2 separate regions of the Homo sapiens genome follow, and region 2 is linked to region 1. Evidence: promoter capture Hi-C in 16 types of primary human blood cells and fetal thymus (Javierre and others, 2016). All regions are on one chromosome and are shown on one strand. The core of a region is centred on a gene start or on the middle of the fragment in contact, and the rest is flanking DNA. Distances in the headings are between cores, read along the strand shown.

Region 1 (7,093 bases), core at 3,192-5,691:
GACTATGTGAGATGGTATCTCTTCGTGGTTTTGATTTACATTTCTCTGACGATTAGTGATGATGAGCATTTTTTTAATGTTTTTTGGCCACTTGTATGTCTTCTTTTCAGAAGTGTCTGTTTATGTTTCTTGCTCACTTTTTAATGGGGTTATTTGTTTATTGCTTGTTAAGTTTCTTAGAGATTGTGGATATTAGATCTTTGTTTGATGTTTGTGAATATTTCCCCCATTCTGTAGGTTGTCTGTTTACTCCGTTGATGGTTTCATTCTTTCTGTGTGGGTTGATGTTCCTTCAACTGTAGTGTAATATGAGTATAATCAGTTGACTTCTTTTCTGAATGTTTTCAGCAGTCTAAGCATTTTTGCAGGATCTTTATTTGTAGCTTAGTTCTTGTCCTTGGTTTCACTGGGGGATATATTAACAGTATTTTCGGTGTTGAAATTTGGTTGTAATCCACTAGATGGTGCTTAAATGTAATGGTTAATAGGTACGCTCTTGCTTAGCCATGTGGCTCGCCTGTATTTCCTCATGATTGCCATCAAATTTTCTGTTACTGTTCTGAAAGTGTAGGCTCCTCTCCCACAGAAGTGCTGTCTGTAGACCTCTGTTTGGCACTTGCGAGCTGTACAGCACAACCTTGTGGTGAGCTCATCTTTATTTTCCTTCCCCACTTTTGAGGCAGCAGGGGACAAGACCTTGGCAGTGGCTATGGCAGAGGGTCTTTCCCGTGTCTTTTGGTGCTCTACCCTAGAGAAATTCAGAGCGGATATCAACTGGTGCAATCAGTCAAGGGTGGGGCAGCTGCGTTTTTGGCCCAAGCCATGGGAACCTGCCTGGGGATGGGAAGGGGATTGCGGAGGGAACAGACCAGCCTCTTCTCCTTATGGTGGCTGTGGCTTTCTGGAGGTGTGGTTAAAGCACTGTGCGTCTTTGCTTCTTTCCCAGTCTGAGGGCAGCAAGGGCACTACCATTGCAGTGGCAGGGGCAGAAAGGCTTTTGGTTGTCTCTGGGACCTCCATCTCAGAAAAAAACACAGAGTCACTGCTACTGGGGATGTTCAGCCAGGGGGTGAGGCAACTGTGCTGTTGGCCTGAGGTGGGGACCCCGCTTGGGGAAGAGTCGGGGTTCGAGGGATAACAGGGAGGAGAGAGTGGGCTCTTCTTTGTATGGTGACTGTGTCTTGCTAGAAATGTGAGTAAAGCCCTCAGGATCTTCATTTCTTCTCCAGCCTGAGGGCAGCAGGGGAAGAACCACTGCAATGGCAGTGGCAGAGGGGCTGTCAGTTGCCTCTGGGAGCCCCTCCCCCAGGGAAATACAAAGCCACTAGCAGAGGGAATGCTCTGCCAAGGGTGGGACGTCTGTGTAGATCCAGGCTTGGGGCCCTGCTTGGTGAAGAGTGTGGGGTGGGAGCCTACATGGAAGAGAGACTGGGCTCCTCTCTGTATGGTGGCTGCAGCGTGCTGGAGGCTCCAGTGTAGCAACTCGACCTTTTGTTTTATTCCCTGGCCTGAATGCAGCAGAACAGTACCACTGCAGCTGCAATGGCAGAGAAGCTGTGGGTTGTCTCTGGGATTTCCTCCTCAGAAACGCAGAGCTGCTACCGAGTAAAGTGTTTATGTGGAAGCAGAGTGATTGTGCTTGGGGCCCAGGTCAAGAGGCACTGCTCAGTGAAGAGCAGCGGAGGTGGGGACACACGTGAAAACAGTCTGGCCGCTTTTCCTTTAAGGTGACTGCGCTGTGCTGTGGGTTCGCGTCAGTCCCCAACTTCTATACTACCTCCAGAGCCTGATGAGAACATGAGCGTGGAAAAACGTCAGCTTGCCTGCTCCCTCTGGGAGCTCTGTCCCAGGGAAGTGTGGAGCTGCTTCCAGCCTGAGAACTCAGGCAGGGCTGGGGTAGCCTTGTTAGTGTCCCAAGCTAATGGGCCTTATCCTGCGGCGTGCCCGGGAAGAAAGCCTGCAATCTGGGCATGGTGGTGGGTGCTTATAATACCAGCTACTTGGAAGGCTGAGGCAGGAGAATCACTTGAACCCGGGAGGCAAAGGTTGCAATGAGCCAAGATGGTGCCACTGCACTCCAGTGGCGCTCCAGCCTGGGCGACAGAATGAGACACCATATCATAACAAAACAAAACAACAACAACAACAACAACAACAACAAAACCTGGAATATTATTCAGCTTTTAAAAAGCAGGAAATTTAACATTTATTTTAAAGATAAATCTTAATGGTCTTATGATAAGTGTAATAAGTCCATCATAAAAAGTATGAATCCACTTATACGAGTTAGCTAAAGTAGTTGCACTTTTAAAAAGAGAAAATAGAATGGCATTTGTAAAGGGCCAGTCAATGGGGAAAACAGGTAGTCGATTCATGTATAGTATGTATTCATTTTGCAAGATAAAAATGTTCTGGTGATATGTTGCCAACAATGGCAATATACTTAACATGGTCTAACTATTAATATAAAATTAAAATATTTAAGATTGTAAAAAAAAAACAGAAGCTTTACATCCATATGTGATTTAATCTTCATAACACCATATGGCAGCTGTTATTCTACTTTACAGATGAGAAAACACACCTAGGGACATTAAGTGATTTGTTCAAGGTCAAAAACATAATGAGTGCTGGATCTAGGATTTGGATTCAGGTCTGTCTGGTCAGAGCCCAATCAGTGAGCATTCTTTGTACCTCAGGCTCACATATTTGTCATTTACAACTTAAATAAAGTAACAAAAGTTGGGCAAAGTAAATATTTTCATTTTGACAAAACCTTTCTCTGGTAAGGAAGTTTCACTCAGCTAACAGGTTTTGCTCAGAACTGTAATGGAGCCTAGATTATGACAACCTGCTTTATCAGCTTTCTTTACTGGATCTGCTAGATGTGCCTGTCATGATTAACCTGCTTTCTACCAGGTGCTTGAATTAGGCTAGAAGTGCTGTGATGACACTTTCAGTATCAACCTAAGTTCTGCAGGTGAAAAGACAGTGACCTGGATGACGTTGTCATTTCACCTACCCAAGACCTTAAATGCCAAGCTCGAATCCCTATCTTCAACGCTCATTATCTCATAATCACATACCTTCAGCCTACAAACCTGTATTGACTTCTCATCAAGCCCTATGTCAGGCTCTGGCAATACAAAGAGGAATTAGAATGACCCTGTTCTTCGAGGAGTTTATATCTAGATGGGGCATAGACACAAAAACCTAACACATAACAGAGGGTTGTAAGTGCTATGATTTTGTTAATCTGTGGAGTGCAGGGTTACAAAAGAGTGGCATCACACCCAGTTGTAAGTTCAGGGAAGACTTACTGGAGGAGGTGGTACTTGTCCTGAACTAGATGAAGAGGTTGGGAAAGCAGATGCAAAGATAAGGAGGGAAGAGAGAACTTTCGGATAGTTGTTTGTCAGGAGCTTAGCATGTGAGGGATAGAAGGGGTTAGGGATGAAGCATAGAGTTTTTCAGACACCAGTCATGAGAGTCGAATGCTGGACAAAGTAGATGGGTCTTGAATCTGTGGAAAATGGAGAATTATTGCGGAGTTATTGGCAGGGGTGTAATATTGTCAGATTTACATATTAGAAAGAACACTCTATAAATAAAGGCAGAGTGATCAGCTAGATTATTTGTAGAAGTTCATGTAAACCTCAGTGAGATCTGAGCCAGACTGAGTTGAGAAGGAAGGGCTGGATTCTGTCATGAGAATAAGAGAAATGGAAGAATCTGAAGTGATTCTAGATTTTTGGCATGGCTGACTGGGTGGATGAAAATTCCATTTGTAGACCTGTAGGGGCAGCAGTCTGGGGGACAAAAGGATGAGTTTTGGACTTGTTGAGTTTGAACGATCTGGAAGACATTCACATGGATATGTCAAAAAAGGCATTTCAAGTGTCCAGTTTAGGAGACAGATGGGCTGGAGATTTGATGTTCATCAGTACTACCTGTTAGTGATCTTATAAGGATTAAATAATATGCATATGGAAAATATATATATACTTGCCATTTAGTTGTTTGTTGAGCATACTGAATATTTGCATACAAAGGTATACTTACAACACTTTTTTCACAAGCACAGCTGAAATAAACTATAACAACTACCACTTATACTATTTACCATAAATTGTGCTAAATGTTTTTACTTATTATCTAGTGTTTATGGTAACCCTTTGATATAGGAGTAGTTATTCCCATTTTTTTTCTTATGAGTAAACTGACTAGGAGATATAGTGTAGGTTGGCCAGGGCTACACAGTAGCAGAACTGGGGAATTCCAAGGCCAGTGTTCTTTCTTATGACGCATTTTCTGTCTTGGGTTACAACAGCACTAACGACAGGTAGCATTGCACACAGGCAGCTGCTGGGAAGTCTCCGCCCCCATCTCTGGCTAGGAGCCCTGCAGGTGATGATAAACAAGCTCCTGTGGAATTGTGGGTAGACACTGGACTTGTAAACGAAAAGCTTCATAAGTCCCTCTTTGCTTAGTACTTTTCTCGTCCTTTCCCCAGGGTGCACGTAACCCTCAAGCACTAGGACCGTGCGGAATCCAGGCTGCGATGGCACCTTCATTTACCGCCCGCATTCAGTTGTTCCTCTTGCGGGCGCTAGGCTTTCTCATAGGCTTAGTAGGCCGAGCAGCTTTAGTCTTAGGGGGTCCAAAGTTTGCCTCAAAGACCCCTCGGCCGGTGACTGAACCATTGCTTCTGCTTTCGGGGATGCAGCTGGCCAAGCTGATCCGACAGAGAAAGGTGAGAATGCAATTCAGAAGAGGCTGGAGGGACAGGTCTTTTAGCAGGATCCAGGAAGCTTAGTGGTGGCGGTGGTTGTGGTTTCCTTTCCATTCTCTACTAGGGCGACTTAGGAGAGGCATTTATTGGGGATGAAGGGAGACTTCTGGGTGTTGTAGTACGTTTATTTTTACCAAGGACATTTACTGTGGGCATGGGTTGGACTATTTTGGTACCGTCATAGTCCTTCCTATCCATTTGTCCTATTTGTGCATAATTACTGTGTGTGGGGTAAAGCAGGTGTGAATTTCAAACTGATTCTCAGCTATGGAAAGTCAGTCTCTCTCTTTCTCTCTCCCTCTCCCTTTCTCTCTCTCTATTCTTCCGTCTCTCACAGGCCCCAGATCAACCTGCTGCTTACCATTCAACCAATTCTTTTTAAAATTGATTTAAAGTAAAAGTAGTACTTGGTCTAGGATAGTAAAAGCTGCGTCTACCATATATTTATTGCATAGTATATGTGAAATACTCTGCCTGGGTACTTAAACATATTCTATTTCACGGATGCAGTTATATAGGCAATATTCATATTTTATGCATAAGGAAACTGAAGTAAAATGATTTGCACAAAAATTGTTGAAAGTTCTAAATTAAAAAAATTAAGCAGCTCATTCGTTCTCTATAGAATTGTGCAGGCAGGACTATTCATCTCTGTCATATAAGTGATTGGTTACCTGGAGATCTTGAGCTACAGTCTAGTATTGTTTATTTATACTCTGCTTGTTTTCACCTCTCTGCTGTTTCATTTGTTTTTCGTCATTGCTTTATTTCCAGAATCTACAATACTACTTAACAAAGAATAGGCATGCAGCAAATACTATCTCAGTATGTGCTCCTGAATGTATGAATTATTAATATTTGTATTGTACTCCTGGTTACCTTTCAAAGACATATCCTGTCTTCTTGCCGTACCCCCTCCCCAGCCTCTACCCACTCATGCATGCTTTTCTACCAGTTAGGGAGGCAATGGGATGTATTCGGTTGGTGCAAAAGTAATTGTGATTTTGTAATTGAGATTTTGACATTACTTTTAATGGCAAAAATCACAATTACTTTTGCACCAACCTAATAGTAGAAAGATGATATATTTCAAATTTTGGACTGTCTGTTCATGGCTCTGTGACCTTGTGCCACACCAATAGCAGATAATACATATCAAGAACCTGGCACATAGAAGATTGTGTAACATAATGATTAGAAGGATGGACTCTAGAGTCAGACTCCCTGGGTTCAGAAATCCTAGCTTTTCTACGATCTAGCTCTGTGATCTTAAAAACATTTCTTTTTTTTTTTTTTTTTTTTTTTTTTTTTGAGACGGAGTCTCGCTCTGTCGCCTGGGCTGGAGTGCAGTGGTGCGATCTTCGCTCACTGCAAGCTCCGCCTCCCGGGTTGACGCCATTCTCCTGCCTCAGCCTCCCGAGTAGCTGGGACTACAGGCGCCCGCCACCATGCCCGGCTAATATTTCGTATTTTTTAGTAGAGACGGGTTTTCATCGAGTTAGCCAGGATGGTCTTGATCTCCGGACCTCGTGATCCACCCACCTCGGCCTCCCAAAGTGCTGGAATTACAGGTGTGAGCCACTGCGCCCGGCCTTAAAAGCATTTCTTAACTTTTTGTGTCTCTGATGTCCTTTAAGAAAAATGGATTTGATAATAGAATCTACCTTTTAGAGTTATTGTGATGAATTAAATGAATTCATATATGTAAAACTTATAGAATATTGTCTGGCATACTAATCCTATATAAATGTTAACTATTACTATTATTACTATCATCAAGTTTTTGGTAACTAGCCATTTTTTATTCATGCTTGCCCATGAGATGAGATGATCTAGATATAGTTTATCTAGATTTATAAAAATGTTCTGAAGGGGAGAAGTGGAGTGGATACAAAGTTTTATTTATCCCTTAGTTTCTGACATTTTTAAACATGGAAATATTGTTACTGCAAAACAACTAAATTTCTTAAACACCTACCATGTGCCACTTGATAAGGCAAACATTTTACTTAGATTTTTGTAAATTGAATCTTCATAATGACATTTTGAGGTACATATGATTATCATCATCTTACAGAGAAGGAAAATAAAGTTTAGAGCTTTCTAATAGCTTGTCCAATGCCACACAGCTAGAAAGTGGTAGAGCCAGGTAAATCTTACTCAATTTTTGTTGGCACTTTATGGAAGAGTATGCTTCTTGATAACGAGCTCTGATTGAACAGTCAGTTTCCTGTGAGTCAGTGTCTACTGTCTTTTGCTTGCTTTTGTGTCCCTATGATTACTCTTCTATTATTCAGAATT
Region 2 (7,093 bases), core at 1,920-4,419, 610 kb after region 1:
GTTACAGCCAATGTATCTTTGAAAATGTCAAAAAGAACATACATTGGAGAAAGAACACTTTCAGCAAATGGTGCTGGGAAAATTTGATTTTCATAAGCACGGGAATGTAACTGCTATGTCTTACCATACACAAAAATCAACTCAAGATGGATTAAAGATTTAAATGTAAGGCTGAAACAAATATTCTAGAACAAAACCTAGGGAAAACTCTTTTGGGCCTCGGTTTAGGCCAATAATTTATGACTAAGATCTCAAAGGAACAGGCGACAAAAACTGACATAGACAAATGAGACTTCAACTAAAAAGCTTCTGCACAGCACAGGAAATAATAAACAAAGTGAACAGACAACCTGTAGAATGGGAGAAAATATGTGTAAAGTATACATCCAACAGGGCACTAGTATTCAGAGTATACAAGGAACTCAGCCAACTCAACAAAGAAAGAAAATCCCATTAAAAAATGGAAAAATGACATGTATGGAGATTTTTCAAAAGACCTACAAATGCCCCACAGATACGTGAAAAAAGTATTCAACATCACTAGTCATCAGAAAAAAATGCAAATTAAAACCATGATGAGATATTATCTTACCCCAGTCAGAATGGTATAATTAAAAAGTCAAAGAATAACACATATTGACAAGGATGTGGAGAAAAGGGAACTTTTATACATTGTTGGTGAGAATTTAAATTAGTACAACCTTTATGAAAAACTAAGTATGGAGATTTCCCGAAGAACTAAAAATAGAACTACCACTTGATCCAGCAATCCCACTGCTGGATGTCTACCCAAAGGAAAAAAAATCATTATATTAAAAAGATAGCTGCACTTGTATGTTTATTTCAGCTCTAGTCACAATAGCAAAAATATGGAATAAACCTAAGTGTTCATCAATAGATGATTGGATAAAGAAAATGTGGTATGTATACACAATGAAATACTATTCAGCCATAAAAAGAATGAAATCACATTTTTTGTAGCAACATGGATGGAACTGGATGTCATTATCTTAAGTGAAACAAGTCAGACACAGAAAGACAAATATTTCACATTCTCACTCATAAGAACTCCCATATCTGATGGTGAATGTGTAAATTAGTACAAACACCTTGGAAAACTGGCAGTGCTTACTAAAATTTAACATACCTAGCTACACTCCCATTTATTTATTTGATTGTTCATAGCAGCATAATTAGCACTTGCCAATAACTGGAAACAATATAAATGCCTATAAGCAGAAACTAAAAAAATTATGGGTGAGGGATACACTATAATTCTACAACAAAAATAAATGAACAAGCCACGTGTGGTGTCCTATGCCTGTAGTCCCAGATACTAGGGAGGCTGAGGTGAGAGGATACCTTGAGCCCAGAAGATCAAGGCTGCAATGAGCTATGATAGTGCCATTGCACTCCAGCCTGGATGACAAAGAGAGACCTTCTCTCTTAAAATAAAAATGAATAAATGAATTGTTTATACATGCTAAACCATGGCTGAATTTCACAAACAAAATGTTGAGTAAAAGAAGTCAAAAAGAATATAAACTTTCCATAAAGTTTAAAAATAAAACTAATCTGTAGTTTTAATATATTCACAAAAAAACTTGTACACAAATATTGATAGCAAAAACTAATAATACCTAAAGGTGGAAACAACTCAAATGTCCATTAATTAATTAACAAATAAAATGCAATATAGCTATACAATGTGATACATTTCAGCCATGAAAAGAGTGAAGTACTGATATGTGCTAAAACATGGATGAACTTTAATAACATCATACTAAGAAAAGCCAGACACAAAAGCATATATTGTACAATTCCATTCATATGAAATATGCATAATAGACAAATCCATAGAGACAGAAAGTAAATTAGTGGTTTCCTGGAGATGAGGGAATGGAGAATGATTATGGGATTTCTTTTCAGAGTGGCAGAGGTGTTCTGGAATTACCCAGTTGTGATGACTCAGCAACATTATGAATGTTTTAAAAATGACTGAATTGTATATTTTAAAATGGTGAATTTTACATTATGTGAATTTTATCTCAATAATAATAATAAACGAAGAGAAACAAGCAAATAAAAAACATCTAACTTTTGGTTTTGAAAATCAAGTTATTTATTTTGGTACAGGATGGTAGTGACTAGCAGAGAATATGAGGGAGCTTTGAGGTTCTGGTAATCCTTTCATCTGAGTAGTGGTTTTATAGGTGTATTCATTTTTTGAAAATTAATAAAGCAATTTTGTAATGTATGTTATATTTTTAAAGTATATTTCAATAAAAGTTATAAAAATAAAATTTACAAATTAAAAAATGTTTTAGGGCCAGTTATAATTCAATACATGGTAACTTAAAATTATATCAAGAAATAATTAAAATACACAATATAGCCTCACAACTAACAATCTATAGGTTGGTATCTGGAAGCTTATTGAATTGAATAATCCAACAATCTTGAAAATAAAAATAAAATAAAAATCAATTAGCAATTTTAAAGGCATGAATCAAAGATTCACATTTAGTTTAAAAATACTCTTAAAAATACTTGGAGTGGAAATACTTAAAAACACCAACTACTAAAATTATCATGTAAAATAATCAATAGCCTCCAATTTCATAACATTTTGGCATTTCATAGTCAGGGCCCAAATCTGTAACTTTTCTCTTTACTTATTACTGTCTTCAAGAAACTTTCAAAAGATAGATTGTATTAGACAGACAGATTACCAATGTTGCAATAATGGCTCTTTGATTTTTTTTATGTCTAACTGTAACTGGAAAATTCTGGACATGCTTCAAAATTGTCACTATGCTTTTATCCAGATGCTTTCAACCAAAGACACTTAGACCAAAACACTTGGCTATAGAGCAAACTTAATCATTTGATTGTTTAAATTCTATTTTCTCATTTCTATTTTTGGGAAGAATCCTCAATGATTTTTATAAATACAGGCAACATTTTATCTTTAAGAATTTTTTTGTCCCAAAAGAATCTATGGTGAATGACAACAAGAATCACTTTGCAAATAATATTCTATCCAGTGTGTTTTTGCAATACTCAGTAGATTTGGTACATAGATTTAGCAGTGAAAATGACTATCCACTGCCTACTGTAAAAATGAAATATAATAAAAGTTAGTCAAATTTTTAGATTTCACATAGACTTACTGCTGTAGATAAACTATTCTAAAAATGAACTGAATAGAAATATGCTGAATAATATACAAGAGTGGATTTATCAGCAAAATTTATAAATACAGAGAATTTGATTTAATAAGAAATTAATCTCTTTTTTCCAATTGAATTTGCCTTTCATTCATTTCCATAAGTCTTCCCTGTTATCTAAAAAAAGTAGTAAGGCTAGTCTAGGTTTTTCCATTTTCAAAGTAACCACATTTCTAAAGTTATAAAGACTTATTTTAACAATGTTCTTAAATCCTAATGCTTCCTAAGTACATAAATGAAAGTGACATACCCAAATGGCAAAATGAGCTCTCACATAAAAAATAGAAAAGCAAGTTTTACTTAATCAACGCTATTTTAGAAAGTGAGGCAAAAATAATATTGGCTTATTCCCTCTTCTACTAGCATGTCATAACATTTGATGCAATTCCTATTATTATTAATAATTTAAAATAAAACAAGTTCCAGAAAGCACAAGAACATAAAATGACTTTAAAGGGAAAGCTGTTGCATCTCTTTGGAAATATCAAGGGTCAAGTTTAGCATTAACGAACTAATGCCAACACAAATCGGGAGGAAAAATAGTTCTCACTCTGCCTAGCAGCACATTCTAAAATTGGACCTCGCCTGGAATGAACTTCTATTCACTGAGTCATTGCCTGTGGAATTTCCATTTTAGCTCTCTAATTTGGCTAATTTCCCCACAAATAGACATGAGAGAAGCTTCCTTCTTCCACATGCAGTATTATGTTATTTCACACTGCAGTTATATCCCTCTACTGTGTACACAGGAAAGGGAAATAAGTCTTGACAAAGACGAATCATTTCTTGACTTTATTCCAAGGAAAGACTGGCTTAGAATTGAAATGTTTTCATTTTGGCTACCATTTGCAATTTTTATTGTTAAATGTATTTATTTTTTAAACTGACAAAAATTGTGTATATTTATCATATACAATATGTTTGAAAATATATATAACACTGTGGAATGACTAGATAGAGCTAATTAACACATGCATTACCTCATATACCTACTTTTTGTGGTGAGAACATAAAATATTATGTATCACTATAGTGAGCTTTATTTTTTTTATAATGGGCTTTGTTTCCTTTCCAAATGTATTCAGTTAGTTATACTTTATTCAGAATGTGAGAGACCTGCTTGATGATTAACACTATCCCTCATCACATGATTGGTGAAGTTTCAGGATTCTCCATGTTAAACTCCAGTAGTTGTCATTCCCAAGTATCAAACGAAGTCTTTATAGCCTTATTTTCAGCTAGCATACCTATATAAAATAACTACTTTCTAATTAAAGTCTTGTTTTTTTGTTTCAGAAAATTAAAATTTGCTTGTGTGTCCAATATAAGGAAAGTAAAAATTATTTCAAAAATTACAGGTGTAAAATCATTTATTTATATGCTATGGTTTTCTCATTTGGAAACAAAATGTTTGTTTTATATAATTTCCAAAAGATCACTCTCAGGTTTTATACTTAATATATCCGGGATTCCAATCTAGAGCAAATCAAAATATAGCATAATTTACAAGTTATTTCCCATAGTATTTTGCTATAATTAAAGCTACCAGTCACAATTCTGTTTAAATTTTAATTTAGGACAGTTTATCCTAATTGCTGTATTGCAGCTTACATTTTAGATTCTTAGAACTTTTTGAAAAAACTTCTGATAATCTGCACATTGAAATATTCCTCATAATTTTCTGTCCATACCGTGAAAATAACAACTGCCATTCTATCTGAATCTGTATAATTCTAATACATAACCATCTAGAAATTGATTATATATTATTTGTCATTGCTTGCTGAATTTTTGTTTCTATCTAGCTTGTAATATGTGTGGGTAAAGGGCAGAATTTGTCAAATATGTGCTAAAAATGTTTGTTTGAATAAAGTAATGCAACATACTTTTGTGTTATACTTCATAGTGCCTCACACAGAGTAGGCACTCAATAACCACCAGCTGCTTAATAAGCTGGTAATGATAAGAGGTAGTCTAAGGATTCACAGTTAGTGCTCATAAGAATAATTATCTCCTTTGTTTAAAATACTGAGTTAAGGTATTTTCCATAGGCAGAATGATGGTTAATGTGTTTTGCATGTGCATAAATGTCAGCAGAAAACTAGAATGAAATGTATTGTTCTGTTGACAATGCAGGACAGCAAAGTCACCACCGAACAAAATGTAATTGCTAGGTAATTATACTATTTATTTACTCTCTCTTTTTTTGCACTCCATGCTCACTGAGTTATCACCATTAGTAGTCAGGGTAACTATAAAATGTGTTACATTAGGGTGTAAAGAGAAAAGAGGATGTGACTTCTGTAATTGAGTTTCCATACATCATCACTTGCCATGTTAGCTAATGAAAGAGAGGATTATGAGTAAGAAGCCCAAGTATCACATCGAAGTTGGTTTTTGGGCAATCCTAGTCCTATCTCTTCCAATTTAAGAGAAATGCAGTTAAAACTCAATCTAACACAGTTTAGCATGAGAAACTATTGAAATTAATGACTAAGCAGTATCTTCCAAATTATGGAGATCTGATTTGTTATATTAATAAGCACCAAATAAAAAATACCTGTTGAATATCTGTAGTAGCAGAAGGCAGTAGTAAGAAAGAAATGGAAGCCAGCGACGACATAGCTCATTTTGATACAGAGTAGTCTGGGCTTATATTGTACAAGGTTGAAGAGTCCTGCAGATTCTCAAAGGGAAATAACATTATAAACATCAAATGTGAATCTAAGAACACATGAGGGAGCCAAACAAGATAAAGTCGTCTAACAGTGTGGATAATCTAGACTATGCATGATTTATTCAGAGATAGCCATAGTTTATCACTTCCTGATAAATTAAGCATGTCCTAATCGTCTTTGCATAAATATTCCTGAAAATATTTTATTACACAACTTTGTTCATATTAATCAAGTGTAATTTTTATAGTATCCAAGAAATCCTTAGGGACATTTTTAATCTTCCTTTCTCTTTCTGATGGTTGTCCTATACATTCAATAAGTCACCAAATTATATTCATTTCCTCAATTAGGACACATCACCTATATCTCTGTCTCTTCTCGTCACCACTTCAGTCCAAGCCTTCATCACAACACTCCGGAATTACTACAACAGACTCCTATGTGACGGCACTATTTCCCCCATCGTATCCACATTATACATGTCCACTATATTAATATTTTTATATAATCATATTTGACTTCCCTTCTCAAATATCTTCACTGGCTTTCAATCATATCCAGAATAAAGTCCTATCTACTCTGACTGGTTTGTATTGCCTTCCGGAATTTGGCTCCATACTGGCAGTCTAACCCTAACACCCAGCACTTACCAAATATGAGCCCTGAATTTGAGTTAGGCTGTTTTTCACAGTGTTGTGTGGCTAATTCCATTTTGAGTTCTTTGTGCTTTTCTCCCAGGCTGGAATTCACCAACACTCTTCTTTATATAACTAAATGTAACCACCCATTAAACTCTAGCTCCTGCCCCTCCTTTCACTCCAAGCCACTCATTTGGTGCCTGAAAACATGTTTGTTGATTTTGTTTAGTTGTAAAATGGCTAATAGGTGAATTTCTATGTCCTCTCCAAAATTAAGATATGGCTCATATTTTACTCTTCTTATCTATATCCCTAGTATTCTACCTTGCATTCTGTAAGGAGTCAGTAAATTAACTTGAAATATGCAGAGGGGACCATAGCTTAAAAATTGTTACCAGAGGCCCCATCTATTTAGATTTTGTAAACATATAAAATTCATTTTTAATGATTGCTTTGCTTTTTATAGTTTTTTTTGTGCTTAAACAATCTGTTATCTAAACCCTTGGTCCCTAGCCATTTTGGCACCAGAGACCAGTTTAGTGGAAGA

Evidence for each region. The method cuts DNA at HindIII sites, captures the fragments that hold promoters and counts their contacts. A CHiCAGO score of 5 or more calls a contact.
Region 2: a fragment that was not itself captured here is called in contact with the fragment with the promoter of FAAH2 in region 1 in 2 of 17 cell types (total CD4 T cells and activated CD4 T cells); the score reaches 10.4 in total CD4 T cells.

The regions. Positions count from the first base shown.
Region 1 is chrX:57,282,265-57,289,357 of GRCh38, forward strand. It overlaps FAAH2 (fatty acid amide hydrolase 2), which reads left to right and starts at 4,442. Exons shown (of 11, transcript NM_174912.4): 1 at 4,442-4,753. The coding sequence starts at 4,562. The HindIII fragment of the contact is 1,960 bases long and covers 2,505-4,464 here.
Region 2 is chrX:57,897,298-57,904,390 of GRCh38, forward strand. No RefSeq gene overlaps it. Among named protein-coding and RNA genes, the nearest start is that of ZXDA, 9.6 kb to the right of the region's middle. The HindIII fragment of the contact is 1,479 bases long and covers 2,431-3,909 here.